Linked DNA regions of Homo sapiens: all the other regions are linked to region 1. The links are contacts of gene promoters, found by promoter capture Hi-C in blood cells and fetal thymus (Javierre and others, 2016). All regions are on one chromosome and are shown on one strand. Each heading gives the region's core, a stretch centred on a gene start or on the middle of the fragment in contact. The rest is flanking DNA. Distances are from core to core; before and after follow the strand shown. Region 1 holds the start of PRELID3B (PRELI domain containing 3B). Region 2 has its middle 150 kb from the start of PHACTR3. Region 3 has its middle 120 kb from the start of EDN3. Region 4 overlaps STX16 (syntaxin 16). Region 5 has its middle 94 kb from the start of EDN3. Region 6 overlaps NPEPL1 (aminopeptidase like 1).

The links. Contacts are between HindIII fragments. The CHiCAGO score rates a contact against its expected background, and 5 or more counts as called.
Region 2: a fragment that was not itself captured here is called in contact with the fragment with the promoter of PRELID3B in region 1 in 1 of 17 cell types (endothelial precursors); the score reaches 5.6 in endothelial precursors.
Region 3: a contact is called between a fragment that was not itself captured here and the fragment with the promoter of PRELID3B in region 1, in 1 of 17 cell types (non-activated CD4 T cells). The highest score is 5.3, in non-activated CD4 T cells.
Region 4: a fragment that was not itself captured here is called in contact with the fragment with the promoter of PRELID3B in region 1 in 1 of 17 cell types (neutrophils); the score reaches 6.6 in neutrophils.
Region 5: a contact is called between a fragment that was not itself captured here and the fragment with the promoter of PRELID3B in region 1, in 1 of 17 cell types (naive CD8 T cells). The highest score is 5.4, in naive CD8 T cells.
Region 6: a contact is called between a fragment that was not itself captured here and the fragment with the promoter of PRELID3B in region 1, in 1 of 17 cell types (neutrophils). The highest score is 7.6, in neutrophils.

What each region holds. Positions count from the first base shown.
Region 1 is chr20:59,041,224-59,044,491 of GRCh38, reverse strand. It overlaps PRELID3B (PRELI domain containing 3B), which reads left to right and starts at 1,706. Exons shown (of 6, transcript NM_016045.3): 1 at 1,706-1,793. The coding sequence starts at 1,762. It overlaps SLMO2-ATP5E (SLMO2-ATP5E readthrough), which reads left to right and starts at 1,646. Exons shown (of 6, transcript NR_037930.1): 1 at 1,646-1,793. RefSeq lists a silencer at 1,389-1,788. The HindIII fragment of the contact is 2,130 bases long and covers 1,038-3,167 here.
Region 2 is chr20:59,454,097-59,457,364 of GRCh38, reverse strand. No RefSeq gene overlaps it. Among named protein-coding and RNA genes, the nearest start is that of PHACTR3, 150 kb to the left of the region's middle. The HindIII fragment of the contact is 2,702 bases long and covers 473-3,174 here.
Region 3 is chr20:59,415,218-59,418,485 of GRCh38, reverse strand. No RefSeq gene overlaps it. Among named protein-coding and RNA genes, the nearest start is that of EDN3, 120 kb to the right of the region's middle. The HindIII fragment of the contact is 6,355 bases long and covers 1-3,268 here.
Region 4 is chr20:58,674,433-58,677,700 of GRCh38, reverse strand. It overlaps STX16 (syntaxin 16), which reads right to left. Exons shown (of 9, transcript NM_001001433.3): 9 at 1-1,514. The coding sequence ends at 1,410. The region is part of intron 8 of STX16-NPEPL1 (STX16-NPEPL1 readthrough (NMD candidate)); the gene reads right to left. Among named protein-coding and RNA genes, the nearest start is that of NPEPL1, 17 kb to the left of the region's middle. RefSeq lists enhancers at 824-1,348, 1,349-1,874. The HindIII fragment of the contact is 2,189 bases long and covers 606-2,794 here.
Region 5 is chr20:59,393,105-59,396,372 of GRCh38, reverse strand. No RefSeq gene overlaps it. Among named protein-coding and RNA genes, the nearest start is that of EDN3, 94 kb to the right of the region's middle. The HindIII fragment of the contact is 1,476 bases long and covers 847-2,322 here.
Region 6 is chr20:58,694,628-58,697,895 of GRCh38, reverse strand. All of the region lies in intron 3 of NPEPL1 (aminopeptidase like 1), which reads right to left. All of the region lies in intron 13 of STX16-NPEPL1 (STX16-NPEPL1 readthrough (NMD candidate)), which reads right to left. Among named protein-coding and RNA genes, the nearest start is that of NPEPL1, 3.5 kb to the right of the region's middle. RefSeq lists an enhancer at 2,910-3,268. The HindIII fragment of the contact is 3,026 bases long and covers 199-3,224 here.

The DNA of each region.
Region 1 (3,268 bases), core at 457-2,956:
ATAGCAGGGACAGGCTGTTCTGTGCTGATGGTTCTTGAACCAGTGTTTTTAACACCCAGCGACGTTAACTGCATCTTAGTCAAGGCTGAGGTACTCTCAGTAGCCCTTAAAGCATTACCTCCCCAAGAAATCACTCTTAAGTACTGTAGGTTTAAAAAAAGAAAATCTCAGGTACCACAAATTGCACTTAGCAACTACCCAACCATATTATTTCCTTCCTGTCTAATGTAATTTTTGTTTTCCTGTATAAAGGACTTATGTTATTTTGAAAAATTATCCTCCCTCCTAAATTAACCTGGCTTTTTGTCTTTAACAATCAAACAAGCTAAGAACAAGAATGAGGTGGTCCTTCTAACAAGCTTCTAAGTAACTAGATGTAAAGATTTTCCTCCATAACCTTCATTGAAAATGGCAAATTGTTCTGTTAGGAGGTAGACGGCTGTGGAGAGTGCAGGAGAGCAGGGTGGGAAGCCATATTCTGAAAGCTAAGCCAGGCAGTCTGTTCCCTGGACAAGGCTCATCTCTGAATGAAACCACATGCCACCTCCTCCTGCCCCAGCAATTCTTAGTCATTCTTTCATCCATTGATGCAACAAATAATTGTCATTTAGGAAGGGGGAAATCACTGAACAAGTCTGGCAAGAGCCTCGCCCTCAGGGGCTTACAGTCTAGCGGAAGTTACAACAAATAAACTAGATGACTCCATTAATTCATTCATCCCACAAATAGCTATTGATTTTTTTCATTTTTCAATAAGTAGTCATTGAGCCTTGACTATATGGGAGACACTGAGGATGATTTTTGAGCAAGACCGGCAAGATTCTTGCCTTCAAGAACTCAGTTCGATTGTGAATTTTCACAAATAAATTAACAAGATGATGTCAGAGGGGTAAGTGCTATAAAAAATGCAACAGGATATTGTGACGGAGCAGAGCAACAAGGTGAGAAACGGTGACGAGGGAAGTCTCTCTGGGAGAGACATCTCAGCTCAGATCCATCCTATGCACCTAGGGCAAGGTGTGCCCGGCCAGGAAGCTTTTCTACCCGACCCCTGGCACCGTGCTTCCGGACCGCATCCCTCGTAGGGGTATTATTCATGGGCAGGTCTGATGTTAGCTTCTCCGCGTCACGCCTTATTTATCCCCTCCGAGGGCTGCAAGCTCCTGGCGGGCAGGTGGGACTGGCCCAGCTGATCGGCTGGGTGGCTGGTGGATTTGGGAAAACAGCCCGGGCTGACCCAGGAGGTGGCTGGAACTCTCTATAGGGCACCAGGAAATTTTGCACAAGTGACCACCACAACGAACATCTATGTCAGCAGGCTGACCGCATGCGTCCACACGCCTCGAAATGCCAGGCGAGGATGTGCTGGGCCAGAAGGACAAGGAGGGCCAAGCGGGCGCGCAGGCACCTCCTGGACCTGACCCAACTCTGCCCAGAGGTCAAGGCTCGCTACAAGCCCGCCGCGCCTGCGCAGCACAGCGCCCGCGCCGGCCCCTCCAGCTGCCGTCGGCGGCACTGCGCCGGCGCGATGCGCCCGGCGCTAAGAGGCGGGGTTTCCTTGCGCCGCGCGCAAGGCTGGGGCAAAACCCGGGCCGGGATAGGGCGTGGGGCCGCGCGTCTGGACGTCCCTCGCGTCGGGCCCGACAGCGCCTGCGCACTGCGCCGCCGGCTGGGGTGCTGGGGGCGGGGCAGGGGCAGGTGTAGCCTCTGTGCCTCGTTGTCCCCTGGCGCTACCCGGACATCTCTCAGGGTGCCGGCACCATGAAGATCTGGACTTCGGAGCACGTCTTTGAGTAAGTTTGGGGCGCGGGTCGGCTCCGTGGAGGGCAGGCACGCCGGCCCTGGAGTAGAGGCGAGGCAGAGGCGGCCCGCAGGAGGCTTCTAGGCGTCGGGCCTAGCGAGGGGAGCGAACTCTGAAGCCTGCGGGCCCCGGCGACACGGAGGGCAGACCAAGGTCACGACCCCGAGGCGCCCTAGCCGAGGGGACGGCTCCGACCTCCAGACCCAGGCGGCCTTGCGACCGGCAGGGCTACGGGGTCACTTCCGGGCTGTCCCCCACCATGAGGTAGCCTCGGGCCGGCGGCCTCCTGAGGTCCTGGGGGCGTCGCGGAGCACGAAGCCCTTGACAGCACTCAGGGTTGCCCCATCCCGCCCTGTGAAACCACTTTGGGACGTGGACCCGAGGATCCCAAGAGGGAGGTGTTGGTTTTCTCCAGAGTGTACTTTCCCTGGCCGCCGTTTGGGTGGAGTTTCTACCTTCGAATGTGAATTTCGGGTGAACTCTGACCACCAGGATGTGAAGCCTTTTCACAACTCGTTCATCTACGCAGCAGAGCCTTGGATTTGGAATTCAAGGTCTAGCTCTGGCTGTAACAAGCGTGTGACCCTGGGTTACCCATTTTCATCTGAGAGATGGAAAAGGACGATCGTCAGGGCCTACCCGTGTTAGCTCTTTGAGGCCACGTTCAGGAACATCTTTTTGGATAATGTGAACTGTTTACTAACGAAACTAAGCCTTGAACCAGTTGGATGTGGAGAATTATATTCTCTTCTAGGTCCCTGATTCCATTTACAAAAGAGCCACAAATTTAAGCAGCGAAATCCTTTTTTTTCCCGAGTTACCTGCTCTGTTCCGCTGATCTTAATGTCGTTGCCACACTGTTTTAATTAGTATAGCCTTGTAAATAAATATGCTACAAAGCCATTTATGTTTTTAAAACTGTCTCTGAAGGCAAATTTTTTTTAAATTTCTTTTTTGAGGCAGAGTCTCGCTCTGTTGCCCAGGCTGGAGAGTAGTGGCGTGTTCTTGGCTCACTGCAACCTCCGTCTCCCGTGTTCAAACGATTCTCCTGCCTTGGCCTCCCAAGTAGCTGGGATTACAGGCGCCCACCACCGCGCCCGGCTAATTTTTGTATTTTTAGTAGAGACGGAGTTTCACCATGTTGGTCAGGTTGGTCTCAAAGTGATTCGCCCTGGTCAGGTCGCACCTGACCTCAGGTGATTCGCCCGCCTTGGCCTCCCAAAGTGCCGGGATTACAGGTGTGGGCCACTGTGCCCGGCCTCTGAAGGCAACTTTTAAAACGTTGTCCGCATTTGTACTCAGTGGGACACATCCTAGGGCCTGCTGTATCCTGCAAAGTATAGAATACTGGAATCAGAAGGAAGCTTTCTTTTCCCCCTACTGTTTAGTCTTTTTGGGAGGAAAAAGACCCGAAATTTGTGGTCATTTAGATGTTCATTAACCTGGTCGCATTCATCACTAGTCCAT
Region 2 (3,268 bases), core at 574-3,073, 410 kb before region 1:
CTCAGTTTTCCAACCTGTGAGACAAACACTTGTCAGGGCCATTGTGAGCATCCCGTGAGCTGCCAGGCAGCCTGGACGCAGGAGCCATGGCATTGTTCACCGCCCGTTGGAGGGTTATTGGGTTTGCCACTATATGTGTTGATTGGGTGCCGGGTGGTGTAGTCGAGATGGAATCACCATAATTTTCATTCACAAAATTCAGGTAACTGCTTGAAATAGACTCCATTTGGGGCCTGCCCTGGGATAATTACATAACGTGCCACTTAATAGTAATCAGTGAAGAACTAATTAAAGCAGGCGTTTCTCTGACAGCCATCACAGATTGCTCAAGAGAGCAGGTGAGAGCAAAGCTGAACCGCTCCTGAAGCTTCTCTGTGCTGTCAGCCCGCGGGCGGAGGCCCAGGGAGCCGGGCTGGGAGTGGCCGGGAAGGGCCCCCGAGCTTTTGTTCTCTCCAACTTGTATCTCCAAGCTTCCATGGAGACAGAGAAAAGGGGTCGTGAGGAGCAGCGGGTGTGGGGCCTGGAAGCCCCCAGGGTTCTGTTGGGCCATGGGGGGCCTGGGTGAGAGTCTCGCTCTAGACTGGAGGGACACCCCCAGCAGGCTGGGCCCGCTCCTCTCTCTGAGCTGCATCTCTCAGGGTAGGTTGGCAACGAGAAGGGGAGCTCGCAGAGATGTCACAAGGCTGAATGGGACAACACCCGGACCACAGGTGGGGGAAGCCCCCGAGACAGGACCACGCAGCCACTTGCTGGCAGTGTGAAGGGGCGTGTCGGCATGGCAGGCACAGCCTGTGGGCTTGCTGGAGCCAGGTATGACCACAGATTACTTTGTGAATGCCCCACCACTGCCCCTCCGGGGCTGAGGCTCTAGGAGCTCAGAGAGGCAGCTTGGCCTGCCTGAGACCTCAGAGCTGGGACTTGGTCAGGGGTGACACAGACCCACAGGAGAGTCGGGCCTTCTGGAATTTTCCAAACCAAATAGCATGCAAGTTTCTGTAGTGGTGGTGGAGAAGGGTGCTGGGGAGAGGTCAGTGTGAGTGGAGGTCCAGTCACAGTTCCCAGGACTGTAAAAGGCCAGGACAAACCAAAACTCGGATATGCCGAGTAAGTGCTGGCCCCGAGGGTGGAACTGGAGCAGGCAGCCAGTGTGGCTAAGCCTGAGAGGGGGTACTGCGGGCTCCTCAGACACAGATACTTCCCTCCCCACTGTCCCCACTGTCCCCACTGTCAGCAGTTCAGAAGCAATGAAAGCTGGGAAGAATGAGGGGGAAGAAATGGATGCAGTCGCCCACAGATAAGGGGGAGATGCTGAGGTTGCCCTGACCTCCTTGGATAAAGACCACACCACACTCATTTACACACCTGTTCACTTTTTGGGTGTAGGTGCCCTGAAGCCCCCAGAGAAAATTCTAGAGAAAATGCTGCTTTCCGACCAGAGAGGGTGCTGTTGCCTCACAAATGAGCTACCCAAGGATTTGGAAAAAAATTTCCTTGCCGTGATCCAAAGACTGAGAAGTTTCTGTCCATAAACAGCCCTGAAATGGCCTGAATCCTGCCAAACCCTGGGCTTTTTTTCCTGCTAGTACCCATTTTCTATACTCCCACAGGTTGGGGTGAGGAGAGAGAATTATCAGAGCTAGGGAATATTGATGATAACTGCAATGGCTACAATGTCTCACTGCCCTGTAATACTTGCAGCAGTCTGAGACCTGACCTTGTGCCAGCTACCATGTATCACAGCCAGCCCAGTGCACTGTGTGCCAAAGCCTCACCCTGTGCTAGTGCTTTGCACACATTTCCTCTGATCTCACAGTCACCCCCGGGGGAGATAGGGTTGCCCACATGTTGCAGGACCTCAGTGCTACCAGTCACTTGCCTAAGGTCCCAGGTAAGTGAGTGAAAGTCAGTCAGAAAGCTGTCATTTGGACCTGGGTCCACTTGGCTCCAGAACAAGTGCCCTTTAACCACTTCACTATGTTATTTGGGAGCTACATGGCAGGTGGGCCCCAAGCTAGACAGTGGCACGTCTCCTCCCCAGCTGCACACCTTGTTCTGTTCCGGGGGACATGTGTCTGACTCCCGCAATTGGGGAGGAGATAGGCTGACATGGGCTGGATCTTAAGGCCTAAATACGAAAAGAAAACACATCTCTCCTCTCCTATCTTCCCCGGCCTGCTTTCAGTTGTTTCTGGTCTGCCTCTCCGGGCTGGGCTTCGAGGCTCTTCTCTCTGAAATGCCCTGGACGGGTCTGCAAGAGAGAGAACCCTTGGAGAGGATTCCATTAAACAATGATCTCTGGCCAGATGTTCTGTTTTTATGCCACATTTTTTCTTTTTCTTTTTTTTTCTTTTTTCTTTTTTTTTTTTTGAGACGGAGTCTCACTCTGTCGCCCAGGCTGGAGTGCAGTGGTGCCATCTCAGCTCACTGCAACCTCCATCTCCCAGGTTCAACCGATTCTCCTGCCTCAGCCTCCCAAGTAGCTGGGATTGCAGACATGTGCCACCATGCCCAACTAATTTTGTATTTTTAGTAGAGATGGGGTTTTACCATGTTGGCCAGGCTGGTCTCGAACTCCTGACCTCAGGTGATCCACCCACTCAGCCTCCCAAAGTGCTGGGATTACAGACATGAGCCACCACACCAGGCTTAAGCCACATTTTTGATGACCTGTGGAGGCCCCATTTCCCATTTTTAGGGAAAGGAAGGACTCACATTACTGAGAAAACTTGGTGTAGGCCACTGATTTACATGGCAGTCTTCCAAAGGAGGCTAAGGTCTGGGCCCCCTGGTTCAGCTGGGCCAGCAATGAGCAGCGTTCAAATCCCTGAGTCGGGCCGGGGAAGATAGGAGAGGAGAGATTTGTTTTCTTTTCACATTTATGCCTTAAAAAGAGAGAGAGACTGAGGGATGGAAAGTAGACAAGGAGGCCATGAGCACGACTCCTTGCAAGCCTGGGTTTATGGAAAAGCATATGTCAATTCAGTGTTCACAAAAACAGACTTTTTCCCCACTGTGGACTGCTCTGCCAGCTATCTAGTTCATTTCTTGGGGCTACTCTGAGTTCTTGTAAATGAAACCGATGGCGACCACCTGCAAAAATGAATGTAATTAGGCAAAATATGCTGATTTGACACCAGCTGGAATCAATTGGGCATACTGAAATCCCAAGAAGCTTAAGATGACTCTCAGGATGGAGTTTTTCTCATGACTTGACGTCTGTCCAGCGGTGTTCACTTAACCCCAAACAGGGTTGGTCAGCGGGGAGCCT
Region 3 (3,268 bases), core at 204-2,703, 370 kb before region 1:
CCATCCTGAGTTGGGATGAGACAGGGAGACGAAGAATTCTTCCCCACAAAGATAACACCAGATGTGAGGTCAGGAAACATGACCGGGTGAAGGGAAGAAGTGTGCCTGGAGCGTCTCTCTAGAACCCAGAGTCACCTTGGCCCTCCGTCACTCATCAGCTCTCCATGGCTCTGCCTACAGAACAAAGCCTGAATGGCCCAAGGCAGGGTTTGCTCTCTGCCCTGCACAGTGCTTGGCATATAGTGGGTGCCCAGTGGATGTGGGTGGAAGGAATGAACAAATGACATTCTCTGGGTGGCTTTCAAGACCCCCAGCATCTACTCAAACTTGTCTCCACTTCACCTTGGCTACAACCACAGGACACTCCTCCCCAGTGCCTGCTCTTTTGGGGAGCATCTCCCCTACCTAAGACCTTCAGCCACTCTTTGCACTGGACCACACCAGTGGCTGCCATCTCTCTCCTTCCCTGAAATCTACAAGTGGTGTTGTCCAGCGCCTTTATTTGGGATTATACTCTCCATGATTCTGCACGATCCCAGGGCCCCAAATATGTAGACACCCTGTCCCAGATTGCTATGACTACCACGACCCCAGGCACAGTAAAGAACCCTCTTCTCCAGAATCCAAGTGTACTTTTCCCTCTTTGAACATATTTTGGGAGGATTCTGTCATTGGGACCCTCTTTAACCTACACTGTCATTCTTTCTCTCATTTTCTCACCATCTTCGGCATTTCTATTTACAAGATTTTCTTCTCTTCTCTCATCAGTTACCCAATTCCTGGCGGTTCTGGCAATATCTTGACTGTACTGGAAGCCCGCTGGTCAAGATCAAGCTACCTTTAGGAACCCTGTTGGCTCCTAGTTCCTACCACACAATAAGCATGCTCTGAAACACAAACAGGAGGCTGCAAGAGCAACAGGGAACAGCAAGGAATGAGGCGCAATCATTCCATGGACAACTTCATGGTTATCCTTGGACTGAGTTCTGCCACGTCTCAGCATCTGAGGCCATCTGCAGAGCATTTGATGGAAAAAGGATAGGCGGTCTCTGAAACCTTCAGACAAGAGGCGCCGTCCAAATCATTTGTGACTTTTATTCTTCAATGTTTAATTGTACCTCCTCTGGGATAATATGGCCAATTTTTGAAAAACAACCATAGCAATAAATTTCCCATAATTTACTGCCAGATTAATAGTTTTGTAGTCAAGCTATTATTGTTTTAATAAGAAGAGAAAAAGAAAAACATGTGAAGAGGCTCTGTATGTTCCAGGGTGAGCTCATCAAGGCAGCCCGCTGGACATGCTGGGCAGGGAAAGCAGCCAGCGTGCCCCAGATGGTGGGGCCCTGGGGTCTCACGGGGAGGGGAGACAGGACCCTCGGCTGGGTGTTTGCCATCTACCCCTCACCCCACCAGGAGCAGCCTGAGCACAGGGGTCTCTGAGCTGCCTGGGTAAGACTCTCTAGATAGGTAAAGGAGAAATTTATTCTGCCCATGAAGGCAGGTAACATGGTCTTCCGGGAAACTCTACCTGCCTTTGTGTCACTCTTGGACAAGGACATTAGCCAGTGACACATCCATGATTTTGCCTCCTCTAGAACTGGGCAAGGGTTCCTAGTGGCAGGGTGGGGACAGGGTGGGCTCTGAGCCATTGGTTGGCAAAACATTGCTCCTCTGATGGCTTTATCTGGTGTCTCATGGCTTCTTCTCATCTCAGGCTTCACAACCATCATACTAACACAGCACCTTGAAAATTCAAAGACACAGCAATCCACAGAAAGACATACACGGAACCGTAAAAGCATCTTGCTGGCCTGGCGCAGTGACTCACACCTGTAATCCCAGCACTTTGGGAGGCTGAGACAGGTGGATCATCTGAGGTTGGGAGCTTGAGACCAACCTGGCCAACAGGGTGAAACCCCGTCTCTACTAAAAATACAAAAATTAGCAGGGCATGGTGGCATGCATCTGTAATCCCAGCTACTCAGGAAGCTGAGGCAGGGAAATTGTTTGAAGCTGGGAGGTGGAGGTTGCAGTGAGCCAAGATCGTGCCACTGCACTCCAGCCTGGGTGACAGAGTGAGACTCCATAAAAAAAAAAAAACAAAAAAAAAACACCTCTTGCTAAGTAAAAGAAGCCAGTTTGAAAAGTCCACATGCTGTGTGAGTCCAACTAGATGACATTCTGGAAAATTCAAAACTATAGAGACGTCAAAAGATCGGTGGTTGTTAGGAGTTCAAGGGGGAGGGAGGGACGAACAGGTGGAGCTCAGGAGATGTTTAGGGCAGTGAAATGACTCTGTATGATCCTGTAATTGAGGGCACGTGACATTATACATTTGTCAAAACCCATAGAATGTACACCACCAAGAGTCAACCCTCTTATGAACTTTAACTGATAATAATGCATCAATATTGGTTCATCAACTGTAACAAGTGTAGCATGCTAAGGCAAGATGTTAATGAAAATAGGATTATTGGGGGAGGGGTATGGGGCATGTGTGGGAACTCTCTGTGCTTTCTGTTCAATTTTTCCCTAAATGTAAAACTGCTCTAAAAAACCCAATCCTAGGGAATGTGCTTTGAAGCAAGATTCATCGCTGTCCCTTCCACTTCCCTGTGAGTAGCTCTTGTCTGGATCACCATCACCCCAACATCCCAGCCATGGGCCTCACTGGCTCTGCAGAATGCAATCATTCCCCAACCCTCTGAATCCATCTCCACCTGCTCTCTCCATCCTGTGACTTCTCCAGTTCAGGCACCACCCTCTCCTATCAGGCATTGTATTTTACCTCCTAGTGGGCCTTCAACTTTCCTGCTTTGGTCTAGAACAGTAGGAGCCTGCTCAGAACCCACCAAGCACAGGCCTTGCCAACTACTTGCCAGGCACACGGGGCTCTTCATGGTGGGGCCGCATGTGCCCACCCGCGCCTCTCCCTGGGGTGCCCAGCTCTGCTTCTCTCCTATGGCCCTCACAGATGCCCCTGCCCTCCCAGCCCGAAGCTCTGGCACCAAGCATGACGTATCACACACCATTTAGGTGACCACCTCTCTCCACAGATAGTGAGCTCCGATAATGCCTAGGTCTGGTCACTTTCACATTCCGGCCCTGACCCCCTACTCCCTGAACCTTGGGGATTGGCAATAAGTCCCACTGCAGTATTTGTTGGATGAAGTGCAATTGGCCATCATCAAACCTAACATTCTAGACCCATGGAGTAGCCGAATCTCCGTGCTCCTCACCCAGAGGACAATTTGTACACTGGCGC
Region 4 (3,268 bases), core at 451-2,950, 370 kb after region 1:
AACAGCACATTTAATGAGGTCATATTCTTCTTAAACTTTTTAAGAGAAGCAAAAACAATGGAAAAGCCATTAAAATTTACACAAAGACCATTAAAACTCTACTAGTGTCAATTAAAACAAAGCCAATAAAACATGAACAACTTCAAAGTTACCATCACTTTCCACACTGTTCTACAGTTATAGGAATATATTCAAGCACCATATTGATAATAGGTAGGTAAACGATGAAGTCCTACTTTGGCGGTCTGACCCACGCTCACACAAACGAGGAGCTTCCTAGTCAAGATGCCCCCAGTCCTTGGCAATGTGCCTGCTTCCTGGGCATTGCTCAGTGGCAATGGAAGAGCCAATAAATCAAATCGCTGGTGGAATATTTTACTTTGAAATGGAGTGATGTTTGGTTAATAATTTGAGATCCACTAATCCTAAATGGGGTGACCCATTTAAAATGGCCTCTGTGTAAATTCACAGTTCATTAAATAGAGTCTGGTTTGAACAGGTCATTATGTAGTTAGTATATAAGTAATGGATTGAGCAAGGATGGCTGGGGATACCCATGGGGACACACTGGCTGAGTCTGGTGGCTTTCATAACACTGTCAAGCTTTCTTTTAATGTGAGATTCATTTAAATCACCAACTTAAATTTAGGTGGTTTTGCTTAGTAACCTCTTTTGGTTTACAGTAGAAAATGCAGTGCAAAAATTTTAAATGAGGAATATTCCATTTACAATTAATTTAAAACTTATGAAGCTGTTTTAACTGGCCCATCTAAATGTGTTAATTAACATCAATGATGGTTTCTTATTTTTCACACTTTGTTACTCTGATCATTAACAGTGATGGAAAAGCTAAATTAAGTTAATGGGGAACGGATTATAAATTCTTAAAGGACTTCTTAGTTTGTTTTCAACTGGAAAATATATAGAGAAAGATGAAGGGGCATTTTTGCCTCTACTCATCAATTTTTGGTACCAAATTTCTTAAAAACCAGATGGTTTAAAGAAAATTTTTCCAAAAATTATGTTAACATTCTGCTCAGACATGGCTGCTAAAAAAATAGCATATACACATATAATACTGAACAGCTTCTGCAGTGCCTGTAAACTCTCAGCTCATTTTCTCTTTCTAAAAAAAATATATATTATAACTGATCCCAGAACTCAATCTCTATTGTGCAGCAGTATCAAAGGTCCTTAAATTCTCAACAATGAAGGAAAAACAAAAACCCATTCCCCGGACCGCTTGAGCAGGACTAGGGAAGGAGGAGTCCGTGGATGCAAAGGTTCGCTGCCCCGACGCCCTCAGATTCCTCGAGGCTGCACCTCTGCGGGCAGCTGGCGGGGCGCAGGCCAAGCCCCTCACACCCGGGAGATCCACACGCGCGGCACACACGAAAACCCAATGCCACTTATCGAGACTTCACGCCAACGAGGACAACAATGAGCACAATGATGATGACAAATAATATTAAAATCACAAGCATCTTCCGATTCTTCTTTTGATACTGTTCTGCCTACAAAAAGAGGAGGGAAAAAAGGCCGTCATTTTCCCCAAAATCCCAAATCAAGTCCCACTCGTTTCCAGAATGAGGCTTCCAGATCTCTCTGCACAGTGACTGAGGTCTCTGCTACAGGCTACATGATTGTAATCCCTCCAATCAATCCCACGGAATTCAATCACCAGGAGTGGAAGAGCCCCATGATCCTGGTGCTGCTTATTTACCCTGGACGTGGAAATGGATTTGTTGGAAACCTACTACTAAGACAAAGCCTGACAGGGAAGTGAAAGCTCATGCTTCCGGGTGCAGCTGGGCCTGCTTCTCCCGGCTTTTCCTCCTGCAGGCCGTGGCAAGTGCCCCTGCAGCACGGGTCGCCTGTTCCCGGTCCGTGTTCCTGGAGCGAATGCACAGTTCCTTCACCGCGGAAGGAAACAACGGGCTGGAGGACCGTACCTGGCAGGTAGGCAACAGACACCCGGAAGAGGCCCCATTTCGACCTCCCCTAAATTTGGAAACAAAAACTCATCCTTTGAAATAAAAACAGACACGTGTGCCCCATGGATGTCATATGCAGAAAGATCCCTCTGAGGCGCGTCCTCCCAGTGCCGCTAACGATACAGCAAAGGAGCCCTCCAAGCTCAATCTGGGGACGAGGCTGCACCCTGCACATCTCTTCACCTTAACACCGCATCCTGGAAGCTCGGCAGGAGCGGGAACTCCATCATGCCTGCTAGAGAAATGCCAAAGGGCCCCACCTGGCTGGCGAAAGACGCAGAGCACTGAGAAAGGAGAGCCAGAGGACAGCAGAGTTCAGAGGGCGCCGGGAGGCACGTCCAGGGAGAGCATGCGCTGCCTCTTCCAGACCTTGCTATGGCACAGGAGGGAGGAGGAGACAGCGGGAAGGCAGCCCTGGCGAGAATGGCAATCTCTCCTGCTCCATCCCCCGCGGTGGGCTTGTTTCCTAAGTGAGCCTGCCCGCCCACCTGGAGGAGCCCCTCATCCACCAGGAGGAAACATCAGGCACGGGGACAGCACCGAGAGTCCGGTCATGGGGAGCAGCTCCCGACGCTCAATCACCCTTAGACTAGCCGACTGCCGAGCACGCGCGTGCTGCCTACAGCCTTGTGGCTGGAGGGAAGATGGAGCACGCTGACTTTTCTAATAAGTAACCCAGAACACCAGGGAAGCCAATACTAAATAATATACTGTAAAACCTCTCAAAATGATTTATAAAGTAGAACCTAAAACAAAATTTTTAGTTCCCACTAGATTTGCTCACTCCCGCAGAGAAAGCTTTTCCTTTTATCTGTGTTATATTACAAAACATATTTCACTAGTTTTTATTTAAGAAACTTCAAAACCAATGCATAATTCAGCAGCACATCAAAACCTGGGTATTACAGAGTGAGAAACTTAAGTTAGTTTTCACTTTTAATAGACAGGGCTTGGCAACCAAATTAATCTAAATGCTTAAAAAAACCCTGCATAGACAAGGTCAGACTTCTCTTCCCACCACAGGCTGGAGTCTCATATCCACCTACACATGGCAACAAGCCCCCTGAAAAGACAGCTCAGGGCTTCTGGTTAGACTAGTGCAAGGGCTGACTTTTTGTAAACCCAATACTGCTATTAAATGGGGCGATCTCTGGTATAGGAAGCGACTGATTTCAGAAAAATGGTAGAGTAGTCCAACAGTGAATTGGCAAAACACTCATTATATGGCTAGAAACTCCACTGGGTCTCAAAGATACAAGGAAATGGATATTATT
Region 5 (3,268 bases), core at 335-2,834, 350 kb before region 1:
CCAAAACGCCTGGAACGTTTTTGAGGCCCAAGGCATAAAACCATTCCCCAGTCAAAATGTCCCACATGAATGAAGACTGAAAGAGGACCCACAGAAACAGTTGTCACCAGTCACTTTAAGTGCTCCAGAAAGGCCTGGACCAAGGACACAATCCTGTTGATTAGAAATCACTGCCTTTGGCCTGGAATGTTGCAACATGGTCGAAACATGCAATTGAGTTAGAGGGCAGACCCATGCCTCCTCCTGCAGCTGCTGCTGGGCACCAGCAAGGCAGGGTCTATTCTTGGCTTCTCCTGCCAGACCTGAGCAAGGATGCATGGAATCTGGGAAGTGGAGGGGGAGCGTGGGGTCATTGGTGGCTTCATAGTTTTTGTTCCACCCTCGGCTGACTGATGGGACACGCATCAGGGATAACTTCAGGGACAGCCAGCACCAGGGACAGCTTCAGGGACAGCCAGCACCAGGTGCCCCACAGAATGCACTTGCCTCCCTTGAAAATGGGAACAAGAACAGTGGGTTCTTGTATGATCAAAATGGGGCTATCGTGAGAAACTAATGTCATTCAGTCAAGCCTTTAACCGGATGACTTGCTCATAGTAAGTCCTCCGCAAATGGAAGCTACTTTTATCTGCATTATTATTACAAATGGCAGAAATACTGACCGTCCACTCAGTAGTCATTCCTCCATTGTTCCTGTGACTAGAACACTGATTTTGTGCAGCAATCACAGAAAGTGCAAATCGGTCTAAGCCACTGCCATCTTATTTTTCTTTGTTTTTGGTGTAGGGATGGGTGTGTGACCTACTTCCCAACACTGAACTGCAGAAGAAAATCTGCTAGGAAGCTTCTGGAAGAGCTTATCCCCAAGAATAAAGAGAGATTTATAAAGAGAAAGATCTTTGGCTTGTACCTCCTTCTTTCTTGTGTAGGATACTATGGTGTAAGCACATGATGCCTGGAGCTATGGCAACCTTCTTGTGACTGTGAAGATGGCAAGGCAGAAACATGCAAAACACAGGAGCCCCGGGTTACTCCCCTTCTCCAGGCTGCTTGTTGTACACAATTAGTCAACCCCCATCTTTTAGTTACTCAGAGCTGGTAATTTTATCACCTGCAACTAAAAGGATTTTGACTGACACATTTATAGTGGATTAAAGTCAGCATCCTGAAAAACCGTAGATGGATGAATGTTTTGAAACAAGCAACAAGTCTGCAATGGAGTTCCCATTCTTGTAAAATTTCTTACACACAGGGTGAGCAAGCAGTCACCCTGTTCTGACCTCTTGTTTCCCAGAAGCTAAGAGCTAGAGAAAGCTGCAAATCAAGCCAGCTCTCCTCCAATGAGTACTGTGCTAGAGGAAGTCCGCTCTGAGGGCCCTTGTGGCTCTGAGAATCATGTAGTACTGCTGGTCCTGCTGGTCACTGTTGGCATTTATGGAGCACTGGCCACAGCTCTCGGAGCTCCAGACCTTATTTCACACTTATTTCATTTCAGTATTTATTTCACCTCATTTCAGTACTTATTTCACAGGCACTGCATGCGAAGGTGCTGAATGAGCTGCCCACTGGCACAGAATGAGTTGCTGAAAGAGTTAGTGGTCAAGTCCATGTTCAAGTTTGTCTCATTCCAAAACCCAAGTCTCAACATGGTCTTTTGTGAGTATCCCTTAAGAAACTGCCAAGTCTTTTTCTCCCATATGTGAAGAGCTGTAGGGTTTGGAAGCAGTCAGTGGACATCTGTAGATGCAGGAGTTGCTGCAACAGATGAGGTAGGGGAGAGGGGAGGTCCTGAAAAGAGAGAGAGCAGGGGGGAGCATTGGGAGCAAGAGAAGGGGCTGAAAACAATAGAGTTGATCTCTGCCCCGAGAGCCCTGGAGCTGCCATTTGTGCAATGCCGGCTCGGTGCGCCGAACCTTTGGGGTTCATATATCACCATGTTATCCTATGTCATCCTTTGGACAGCCCTAGAAAAATGGGAGCTTACAAAATAGCAGCCTAGGGACCACAGTTGCCCCACAGATGTTTCCTGTGACTGGCGGAGCATTGTCGAACTTGGATTCTGAGCACTTCTGGCTGAGGCCTCTGTCCTGCAGTCTACAGACCTGGAATTCCTGGTGAGCCCTTCATGTTTCTGTTCTACACAATCCACCACCTATGTGGTCCCAGTGGTGGGCAATTTTGGTTACACTCCCCGAGGTATTTATTGTTATCCCCATTTTATAGGTGAGAAAGGTGAGTGTCAGAGAGGCTCACCAAGTGTCAGAGTGACTCACCGAAGGTTACCTGTTCACAAGAGGCAGAACCCAGGTGGGTCTGCAAGCTTATGGTTGTCAGATCATGCTAAAGAAAGAATAAAAGAAGAGAAATAAATTTGAATTTCAAATAAACAACATACTTTTTAATACAAGTATGTCCCATCCAATATCTGCGAAATCCAACCATGCTTCGTGCTCCCCTCCACTGGAAAATGATGAGAAGCAGGCTCCACACCAGTTTTACTTCCTTGGATTATGGCCCCAAAATTCTTTAAAATGCCTTTCATTTCTTCTATGCCATTCTCCTGCCTGCATTCTTCCTCTCCACATAGAGAAAAGGAATCTACTCATTCTCAGCCTCCCCCAGAATACTTGTAGGGCTAGGGATGGGACAACAATTGGTGTTTCCCAGGGGAATTTTCCTGGCACTCCCCAGGATCCCTGGCTGAGCCCATGGCTGACAGCTCTCTTTGGAGTTTTGCAGTAGTCACTATGCCCCCAAGGACACTTAAATGGGAAACATGCACCTGGGGTATGGTACATTGATGGTAACATGGATGGATGGATGGATGGATGGATGGATGAATTGTGATAATTAGATTAATTATTGGATGGATAAATGGATGACTGAATGAATGGGTGGAAGGATGTATGGACAATTAGGTGAATGGATGATTGGAGAGATGGGTGGACAGATGAGTAGATGAAGGATAGATGATTAGATGGATGACAGATGGATGGATGGATGGGTGATAAATGGATGAATGATTGGGTGGGTGGAACGATGGATGGATGGAAGGATGGATGGATGGATGGATGGAAGAAAGGATGAATGGATGGATGAAGGATGACGGATGGATGACTAGACGGATGGATGACTAGATGGATGGATGGATAAATGTTGGTTTGGGAAGAGGGGGCATTTCAGGTTGGTCCCAGCAAGTCACAGGACAAAGCAAAAGGGGAAGGAGAGTTAGAGGCAGAACGGACTTGGCTGTTCTGGGCTGTCCTGA
Region 6 (3,268 bases), core at 462-2,961, 350 kb after region 1:
GGGCAGAGAGGGGCACATGCACCAAAGCACACATCACGTGGGTCCCAAAAATGTGTCCTTCAGCCCTGGCTTGGGCCATTCTTTGCCTTCTCATGTGTGTCTCACATCTGCCCTGGGAGCTTCACTCTCTCTCAGCTGAATCTGCGGGCACCCCTTCCCCACCCTGTTCCCCACTGTGCATCCCCAGGCACAGAAGCTTCAGACAGCTGGCTGCTTGCACGGCCTCCCTTGCTCACCAGAAAGACAATATTAAGAGAAGAGCAGCGCTGTTTTGCGGGGGTGCAGGACAGCAGCAAGTTTATCATCCCTGCCTCTAGTCTCATAATGTCAGGGCAGCAGGCGCCGGGTCGATACTGCAGCCTGGCCACCTCCCCCGCCCTGCCGAGGTAATTAAACCCCAAAGCCTCAAAGGTAGAAACCTGGACCTTGACAGCTCTGATATGAATGTGCCTGAGCCGTCCCTGCCGCCTGTCAGCGGGTTCTCTGTCTGTGAGGGCATGTGGGGACTCGACAAGGACTGTCTGAGAAGTGCGTCAATGCTGTGTGACTTGCCTCCAAGGAGGCCAGGTGTCACCTGGAAGACCCCAGACCACGGCGAGCTCGGGGCTCTGACGCAAGAGCGCTCCTGTGGGAGGGAGGGCAGGGCTGCGGGTGCCCTCCACCAACACACAGCCATGCTGCACTGGGGAAGGGTGTCCCTTACCATGAGAGGAGGACCACTCATTCTGTCCACATGTGCCAGGCATCGTGCAAGACTCTGAGAATTCAGAGACGTCCAAGGGAGTCAAGCTCAGCAGAGACTCACAGTACACAGTCCCAGTCCCTGCTACAGAAGAGGATGAGGCCACAGGATGCAGAGGGGACAGGGTCCTGGGTGGGGACTGGAAGGTTCCCGCAGGGAAGAAAAGGGAGAAGCTGAGTACAGGCCACGTGGGTGTCAGATGATGGTGTGCTCAGGACCCAAGAGGGCTGAGTGGTGGCAGCTGCAGCTTAACACCTGGCTCTGCCCCTTGCTGCCGTGGCCCCGGTGAGCCACTCAATGTCGTGGGGACAACAGGATGTATCTCACAGGGCTGTAGTGAGAATTCAGTGCACCAGCACGTGCTGTGTGCACACTCCTGCCTCAGCGCAGGGCCTGACAGCTGACAGCACTCAGAAGATGCCACCTTGCACACACCCAGATGTGCCTTTGGAAGGCGAGTGACGCAGGAGCTGGAAGGAGGCCATCTGTGGCAGGGTGACCAGGAGACTGCTGCCACAGCCCAGGAGAGCACCTCAAGGCACGGCACTGGGCAGAGCAAAGACAAGAAACAGGACACACTAGCTAGTTGGGACCAATGGGGTCGGGGGCCATGGGGACTGACTGCCCCCACTGGTTCCATCACCAGATGTTTACTGGGCCTTTTTCATGTGTGGGGTCGGGTGCTGGGATCACTGTGCACAAGACCAGGTCCCTGCCCTCTGGGGACTCCCAACCCAGTGAGGAGCACAGGAGATCAACAAAGATGTGACATGTCTAGTAGTGATGGTTTAGCTGACAAATGGGAGGGTGGTGCTAGCCAAGAGGGCCAGGCCTCCCTGGGGAGGGAATGTGGGCAGAGGCTGGATGGAGACCATGCTGGGCTGGAGAGGGAAGGACCCCTGCAGAGGAGCAAGAGCAGGAGTGGGCGTGGCCAGTCTAAGGGACAGCAGGAAGTCCACAGGAGGGGAAGGGACTGAGGGCAGCAGAGGTCAGGGTGCCCTGCTGTCCTCGGAAATAAGGGTGATGCTTGAGCCCCCGGTGGGCTCTGCGGGCACCCGTGCCCACCTGGATGGCAGGCCTGGAAGTCAGAAGAAAATCCCTAAAGACAGAGAGAAGAGGCAGATGCTGGTGTCTGACCCGGAGAGGGCTGAGCAGGTCGGAACGCTGGAGAGGCCATGAAGGGGATGCCGAGAGGTGGCAGCAGTCTGGGGAGCAGCGGGAGGGAGGGAGACCTCTGGATGGGGCAGATGCACTTCAAGGAGGGACGGCAACACCCCATCCAGCAGTCCTTAGAAAACAATGTCAGGATGGGGGCAAAAACTCTGTCTCCATGGGTTAAGAGGGAAAAGAGGATTAAGCAAGGCAAACCAGTTAGACTTTTTTAAAAGCTCAGAGACGAAGGGAAAAAAGGGGAGCTATCTCATGCTGGTGAAGATGGAAGAATTTGGGTTGAGGGGCAGTGGTTACAGGCCTCAGAGAGCACACAGTGAAAGAAATGAGGTGTGGCCCAAGTGCTGATGTGGGAGAGCTTGCCTGGGTGAAGGCGACAGCCTTCCAGAGCCAGAAGTGAAGAATGAGCGCTGACACATGAGAAAAGACAACCTGGGTGGCGCTGTGGGCTCGGGGACTGGAGGTGGCAGGCGCAGAGGCTGGGACCGCTGCCGTGGGGACAGGAGCCTGATGTCAGGCCCATCCAAGGATCTGGAGCTGGGAAATCACTTCCGGCCTTGCAGCCTCAAAAGGATCATTCTCAGCATTGAGTGAAATAACACATGTAGAAGTGCTCCCTGTAAAGGGTGCAGCAACACACATGCACACACACCACACACACACCACTCATGCACACACTAGCACTCATACACACACAGCAACACACACAACACACACACACACCACTCATGCACACACCAGCACTCATACACACAGCAACACATGCTGCTCATGCACACACCAGTACTCACACACAACAACACACACCACACATGCACACACCACACATGCACACCACACACACACACCACTCATGCACACACCAGCAAACACACACACACAGCAACACATACCACACGTACACCACACACACCACTCATGCACACACCAGCAAACATACACAGCAACACATACCACACACACACACACATCACACATGCACACACACACCCCCCACACATACAACACATGCACATACACTCATACACGCACAGCAACACACATGTGCACGCACATACACACACACGTGCATACATCACACACGTGCACACGGAGCTCACATAAACGGGCAGGGTTATTTGGAAAACAGCATGGACGTTCCTGGCACTGATTACGTGCTCAACAAACACTGCCTGTATACAACAGAATCCTGAAGTCACAGACCACGCTGAGGCAGAGGCAGGGGGCCTGGGTTTGGAAAAGCCTCTGCCGCTTCCCAGGAACCAAAGCTCCTGGGAAGGGCAGGAACCCCCTCCTGCCCCCGCAACAAGCTTTTCCCTCTCCCGACCTCCCTCCCACCTGCCCGATCTTGCCCGG